Linked DNA regions of Homo sapiens: region 2 is linked to region 1. Evidence: promoter capture Hi-C in 16 types of primary human blood cells and fetal thymus (Javierre and others, 2016). All regions are on one chromosome and are shown on one strand. Each heading gives the region's core, a stretch centred on a gene start or on the middle of the fragment in contact. The rest is flanking DNA. Distances are from core to core; before and after follow the strand shown.

What was found. Contacts are between HindIII fragments. The CHiCAGO score rates a contact against its expected background, and 5 or more counts as called.
Region 2: a contact is called between the fragment with the promoter of UBAP2L here and the fragment with the promoter of HCN3 in region 1, in 1 of 17 cell types (neutrophils). The highest score is 5.3, in neutrophils.

Annotation. Positions count from the first base shown.
Region 1 is chr1:155,275,300-155,278,810 of GRCh38, forward strand. HCN3 (hyperpolarization activated cyclic nucleotide gated potassium channel 3) reads left to right here and starts at 2,164. Exons shown (of 8, transcript NM_020897.3): 1 at 2,164-2,569. The coding sequence starts at 2,292. The HindIII fragment of the contact is 9,883 bases long and covers 1,282-3,511 here.
Region 2 is chr1:154,218,622-154,222,361 of GRCh38, forward strand. It overlaps UBAP2L (ubiquitin associated protein 2 like), which reads left to right and starts at 2,334. Exons shown (of 27, transcript NM_014847.4): 1 at 2,334-2,354. It overlaps LTAP1 (lipid transport auxiliary protein 1), which reads right to left and starts at 1,969. Exons shown (of 7, transcript NM_001098616.3): 1 at 1,721-1,969; 2 at 1,215-1,316. The coding sequence starts at 1,786. RefSeq lists enhancers at 1,342-2,089, 1,668-2,107, 2,090-2,837 and silencers at 1,428-1,497, 2,358-2,507. The HindIII fragment of the contact is 10,463 bases long and covers 155-3,740 here.

The DNA.
Region 1 (3,511 bases), core at 914-3,413:
ACAGAGTGAGACTGTGTCTAAAATAAAATAAAATAAAAAATAAAAATTAGCCATTCATGGTGTCTCCCACCTGTAGTCCCAGCTACTCGGGAGGCTGAGGTGGGAGGATCACCTGAGCCTGGGGAGGTTGAGGCTGTAGTGACCCGTGATCGTGCCACTGCACTCCAGCTTGGGCGACAGAGTGAGACTCTATCTCAAAAAAAAAAAAAAAAAAAAAAGAAAAGAAAAGAAAAAAAGAAAATGAGAAAGAGAAAGAGTTAGAGACTTTACAGAAGGAATTGAGAAGTGGTCAGAAAGGTCAATTGAAAGAGAAATAATATAATCTGAGAATAACGATATTAAAGTCAGGGAGCTGAGCAAGGTGGCTCACACCTGTAGTCCCAGCTACTCAGGAAACTGAGGTGGGAAGATTGCTTTGAGGCTGCAGTGGGTCATGATCACACCACTGCACTCCAGCTTGAGCAACAGAGCAAGACCCTGACTCTAGAATGAGTAAATAAATAAAGTCAGGAAATATTAGAGAGGAGCTGGATGAAGGATGGTCAGATGGAGGTTAGATCAGATAACCAGACATAGTTTAGAGAAGTTCCCTGGAATAGAACATGGAGAGCAATCAATGAAGGAGTCGGGGAGAGAGAAGTAAAGATTTCACTTCCACCTCCTGGAACATTTTCCTAGATTATTAATTCATTCAACAAGCATTTACTGAATGTCCACTATGTGTCCAGAATTATGCCAGGTGCAAGGTTCCTGTTTCTCAGAGTTTCACAATCTAACAGGAGAGAAAATCTGTAAATAAATAATGAGACCATGCTCATGCCTGTAATCCTAGCACTTTGGGAAGCCAAGGCAGGAAGATCACTTGAGCTCTGAGTTCAAAACCAGCCTGGGCAACATAGTGTGACCTCATCTCTAAAATAATAATAATAATGGTAGCCCTGTGACATGAGTTGCTCAAAACAGTGGTGCCCTGGCTGCTGTAAAAAAGCTCTAGAATAGACCCTACCTGAGGAAAGGAGAGTTGGAAATGTGTTCCTAGGTTTCCTAGAGAAAGCAAGATCTGAACCAACTGTTCGAAAGTGAATTGGAGGAGAATACCAGGCAGAGAAAATATTTGCAAAAGCATAGAGACAAGGCAGCACAAAGTCTTTCAGCATGATTGGGGCTGTGGCTTTCAAGAGAGGGACTGTCAGAAGAGAGACTGTTGAAACTAGGTCCAAATTTTTTGGGCCTGGTACACCATGCTAAGCAGCTTAAATGTACCCCTGTAGAAGATGGGAAAGCTTGATGGGCTTCAAGCAAGTGACACAGCCATAGTTGGATTTTAGGAAGGTAACTGGCAGGGAATGGAAGAAGAATTGGCCTGGAAGAGGTTGAAGACTCTTTTAGAGGTTTCCGAAGTAATTTAAGTGAAAAAATGCTGAGGGCTTGAAATGAGGCAGTGGTAATAAGAATTGGAGATGAAGGGGAGAATTTGAGATATTTAGGAATTTGTAGCACTTCGCATAGCACTGCAATTTACCTGTCTGTCGTTGGGCACAGATGAGCAGTGGCTTTATGGCTAGGCCTTTGTTTTTGTTTTGTTTTGTGTTGTTTTCCATTACTACATGGAGATGCTAAGACTAGGACTTTTGTATTCATTTTTGTTTCCTCAGCATCCACTCAATGACAGGCAGAGTTGCACTTGGTGAAGGCTGACAGAATGAATTAGGAAATTAAATACTAGGGGAAGCAGTTCGGAGGAGACCAAAAGACAAGAATATGCCTAGGACAGTGTTGAGAGAAGACGGGAGCAGGACAGAAGTCCCTGGGCGAGAGTGGAGAAGAATCCCAAAAGCCATTTCCACTTCTTCCATTGGTCCCCAATCCCTCTCCCTCCCAAGTCCTTCAAGCTACAAACCCGCGTCCGATTTTCCCGCCACTGCAGGGGGCTCCTCCTCCCTGGTTCTCAGTGGATGAAAGGCCAACGCTAGGCCACGCCCTCTCCCTGGCTCAGGCTGCGCTCCCCGCCTTCTTTGCTAAGCCACGCCCCTCTCGGAGTTCCTCCAGGATCCCGGCGTCCCAGCCCCGCCCGGTCTTGGCGCGGCCCTCGCCAGGGGGCGCCGCGCAGCCCGCCCGCCGCCCGCCAGTCTAGCACACACCCCCTCCGCCCCGCGCGCCGGCGATTCCGAGCCTACGACGCCTCCGCTAGAGCCCGCGGGGCTGCGCCGACTCCTGCTCTGGAGGGGTTGCGGGTACCTGATGGCCACAGAGGGCTCTAGGAGGCCGAGCGTGTAAGCGGGGTGGGCGCCATGGAGGCAGAGCAGCGGCCGGCGGCGGGGGCCAGCGAAGGGGCGACCCCTGGACTGGAGGCGGTGCCTCCCGTTGCTCCCCCGCCTGCGACCGCGGCCTCAGGTCCGATCCCCAAATCTGGGCCTGAGCCTAAGAGGAGGCACCTTGGGACGCTGCTCCAGCCTACGGTCAACAAGTTCTCCCTTCGGGTGTTCGGCAGCCACAAAGCAGTGGAAATCGAGCAGGAGCGGGTGAAGTCAGCGGGGGCCTGGATCATCCACCCCTACAGCGACTTCCGGTATTGGGGGCTTGGCGGGGAGGGCAGGGTACATCAATCCCACCCTCGCGGGCAGCGACACCGGGACCCGGCCCGCCCCACCCTCCACGGTCACTTCATTTCCAGCCCGGGGTCCCTTGGTGGGGCGGGAGAGTCACTTGCACCAGTCTAGCCTGGGAATTCCTGGGCGGGTATCCCCTGCCGGAGGTCCTCCGTGCCTGGACAGGCTGGGGGCACCAGAAGGGGCAAGCAGACATCAGGGGATCTCCAGAGACCTGGATTTCCTCTTTCAGGAACCCGGGACCCCATCCGGACCAAAGGAACTACCAGAGTTTGGGACCCCTGCCTCCTCCAGTCCTGCTTGCTGGAGATCTAGGAAATTATATTCTAAGTATCGGGGCCAGTCTGAGGGAGAAGCCGAGCTCCGCCATCTCCCATCCCCACACCCGCTCCTTAGCACCTGCCTAGTTCAGCATGACAGACTACCAGGAAAAATAGGGACGCTGAAGGGGGCGGGGGGTCCAGACCTCAGCTCTGGTCGCTGTCCCTAGTGCTGAAGGCGGGGGCGGCGGGGCGGGGCCGAGACTCAGAGTGACTGAGGCGGCAAAGCAGGGGCAGGACCACCACCCAGGTGACTCCCAGAGAAGGAACAGAGGGTGGGGGTGGGGCCATTTCACAGTCTCCGTCAGGGTGTACCTCTACATCAAGGTCGCTAGGGGAAGACAGCAGCCCTGTCCTTGGGGGAAATGAAGGACAGCTCTTGGATGAGGCAGGGATGTGTGCAAAGCACCTAACCTGGGGAACTAAAGAAGCAGAGAGGAAGAGGTGTGAATCTGGAGCCTCGAAATACAGTTGTAGACCCAGACATTATCTTGAATCCACATATATACACACTCCCTCTATGTCTCTCTTCCTCCCATTGTTCCTTTCACTCCTGTCTTTGCTGCCTCGTTCCCACCCAGC
Region 2 (3,740 bases), core at 1,084-3,583, 1.1 Mb before region 1:
TTTTTCATTCAGCAACAAATTACAGAGTACCTGCTATGTGTAGGCCCTGGCACTAACCTGTTTTTCATTCAACAAGAAATTACTGAGTACCTACTATGTGTAGGTCCTGGCTTTATAGTCGTGAACAAAACTGGCATGGTGCCTGCATTCTTGAAGCTTACGGTCTAGCGGAAGAGAGAGGCATGTTTTAAACAAATGGACAAACATAAAAATTATGGTAAATGCTATGAAGGAAAAATCAGGGTACCATGTGAAAATAAAGAGAGGGGGAACCTACTTTAAAATAGGTAATAAGCATTCCTTTTTTGGAAGTAACATTTAAGCTAAGATCAAAAGAATGAATGAGCTAGCCAATTGAAGACCATTCCAGATCACAGGAGCAAAAAGGGTGGAAAATTCAGCCAGTGGAGCTGGGTCCCAGTGATCTGGGGAGAGCCACACAAAAGGGGGTTGGTAAGGGAAGCAGGTGTCTTTTACTTAGAAGCGAAAGACTAAAGAAGCAGAATGAGAGTGGCAGTGGGATAGCAATAATTCTGATTCACAAATGTTGGGTTTGAGATGTCTACTACAAATCTAAGTGGAAATGTCAGGTAATCAGTTGGCAATATATGTAAGGAACTCAGGAAAGAGTTCTAGGATAGAGATAAAATTTCATCTGTAGCTAAAGCCAAGGAAAGGAAGACAGTCACCTAAGGAGAAAGTACAGACAAAGATAAAAGACCACTGGGTTATTCACTTCCTATACGTCTTCTGGTAAACTGCCTCCTTTTCTTGGGCTTCTTGGTAACATGAATGGTGGAATTAGATGATTTATGGAGCTCCTCTTAAGTCTAAAATTATGTAAAGGTAACCCTTCTCATTGCTCTTGGGTTAACCTTAATGATCTCAACCCCATCCTAATCAAACAAAAAACACTGGGTAGTTTAAGATGAGCTGGGAAATATTTTACTACAAACAGTTGGGAACTTCGACCCAAGCCCTTCATTCTGCAGATACAAAAACAGAAGTTCCAGGATGAGCCACATGCTTGCCACAGCACTGAGCAGGTAAGCCAAGTTCCAAAGCGCACAGTGCCTGCTCAACTTAGTAAGTACAAGGACAAGTGCACGCAAAGAAACATGAGAATTAAAGTCATCACTAAAGGCAGAGGAAATCTCATTCTTGACCCTAAAAGATCTGGAGAAGTATGTTTAACTTGTGCCCTAAGGACCTACCTTGGGGGCATTGTGTCCCACAGGGACATGAGGTCCCCTTCGAGATTTCATTGCAAAGCGCATGATTTGCCTCTTCACAAAAATAAATAGCAGTACAAACACCTGTCCAAAAAGATGTAAAAATCCTTTAATAAAAAGTCAGTTTTGTTTTGTTTTTTTTTTAAAAAAGCATGCCTTCATTCCAAATCCCCAGATTCCGGCTCTCAGGAATGTTTCAGGGTAAAACTTGGGGCAAAGCAAGGCCGTTATGATGGGGGTGGATCTAAGAAGCCAGCAGCAGGGAGGCGTGGGGTCTGTGCTCTAGCGTTAAAGGGAGGGTTCTAGACTAACGAGGGCGGGTCGGCCCGACTAAGTGACTTAAACTCCCACCTACTCCTGGAATAAGGAGTCAAAGCCCGGATAGGCGCAGGTGAGTGGGTGGAGAATGCAGACGGGGTACAGCTCAAAAGGAGGGTCTCTACTGGGTAAGATGCGACAGCAGGAATGGGGTGGGGTAATCTCCTCACCAGGCTCCCGTAGGCCATCACCAGCACGACATTCACCCCGGAGAGCCAGTTACTGCCGGACGCCATGGCCTCCCTACCTCGCGCAGAATTGTTCGGGTTTACCCCGCTGTCCTGGCTGGTCAGCCCAGGCTCCGCCGAAGCGACGGCGCCTGGGTCCCCTGGAGCTCCCCGGCCATTTCCTTACGGGGGAAGACCAAGCCAGACCCGGCCTGAAAACATGGCGGACAGGCAGGAGAGCTGGGAAAGGAGAACGACGCCTTCCAGCTTCCCCCTGACACGTGACTCAGGCAGGCAATGGCACCCAGGAGCGTCGAGCGCTCAGACGCGGAACTACGACAGTAAGAGGAAGCGGCGGCCATCCGTGCGTCACGTGGTGGAGGCAGGGCCGCCGTGAAGGAGGCGGGGTGGACTCGCGGAGCCGGAAAGAGGTGTCTCGTGGCGAGGCGGCACGCGCACGCTTGCGTGCGCGCCCCTTTTAGCGTCACGCGCTGAGGGACGCAGGAAGGCAAGTGGGCGGGGGAAGGCGCGAGAGCGAGCGCGAGAGGGAAAAGGAGGGAGGGGGTGGGGAAGAGGGAATCTTATATCACGTGACAGGGGCGGCGCGGCCCGGGGTGTCAGTGTGGAGGAGACTGAGGTAAAGTTGGGAGCGCAGCGGCGTTGGCGGCGGCGGCGGCGGCAGCGGCAGCGCGGCGGGGCCGGGTATTGTCCGCGGCCCCTTTAAATCCGCGATCCCCCTTTTACCCTCCCTCTTTTCTCCCCTGCCCCCGCCGTATCCCCTCCCTCGGTAGGCCCCCCCACACCGTGTGTTCCCCCACTGTACACCCCCCCCCGAGTCATGCGAGCCCTGGCGCCCCCCACCTCGAGTCGGCCCCCGGAGGTTTTGTTTATGGTTGGGTTCGCGGCCTAGTGGGCCGCGCCAGAGCCGGGGCCTCGATTTGGGAGCGTGGCCGGGGCGGGGCTTGGAGCAGCCGTAGGAAGGGGGGGCCATGCGGCTAGAGCCTGAGAGGGGAGAGCGAGAAAGAGCGCGAGCGAGCGAGGCCTGGGCCTTGCCTGAGGTAGGGCTCTCTCTTCACCCCGGCCGGTGCCTGCGGAGGAGAGGGCCTCCTCCCTTTCCACCCACTGCGGGCCTCCTCTGATCCGGATCCGGCCTGGTTTGGGGGTGGCGTGGGGGAGGGAGGGCGATGGGGTGGAGCTCCCCCAAACTCCCCCATGTGGCCCTCAGTTTGGTGTGCGAAGGATTAATTTGTTCCGGCTGGGAGGTAGGGAGGAGATTGGCCCCGTGGGCTCTCGATGTGGCGCTGAGGGGGGTGAGCCTCCCATCCTCCACCCGTGGGCTTGCGTCCCCTCTCCGTTTCCAGGCTCTTTGTCAGCTCCTCTTATTACCCTCCCTTCTTTCTCACCAACCCAGTTCTTGGAATATGTTTTTGCTGCTGTCTTTAGCTTCCTGTTTATACTGTAGTTTGGGTACCCCAAACAATTGTGTTATTTGGGAAGCTGGACATGGAGGCCCCCATAGGGTGTATTTACGCTTAAGGGACGTCACTAGAGCACTGGGGTATTTGTTCACTCTTCTCATAATGGTACAGGAATGCCCAGTTTCTTCAAACCCTTAACCTTGTGGACAGCCCTTAAATTGCTTTGCAAACTGATGTCACAAACTGGAGACTGCTCCTTTTCCACCATTCTTGAAATGTAGCCACCTCTGGTGTAGGATGTTGTGGAAAGAAAAACACCACAGTAACAGGCGTTTTTGTTATTATTGTTAACGTTTTTGCCTTTGACTCTCCCTGATTATTAAATGGAGAAATCCTTTTTTTTTGTCTTCTCTCCCATCCTACCTTCCTCCGCCGCATATCCTGTTTTGGGGATACCTGATGTGACTTGCTGGGAGGTGATGGACATTACTAGTAACCAGCGTTTCTAGAGAATTAAAACATTTTGGCTGTGTATCAGTTGATAAAACTGCTTTGAGATCTGTCTCCATTGTACTTAAAGATTAGACTATCCCAATGATTACAGA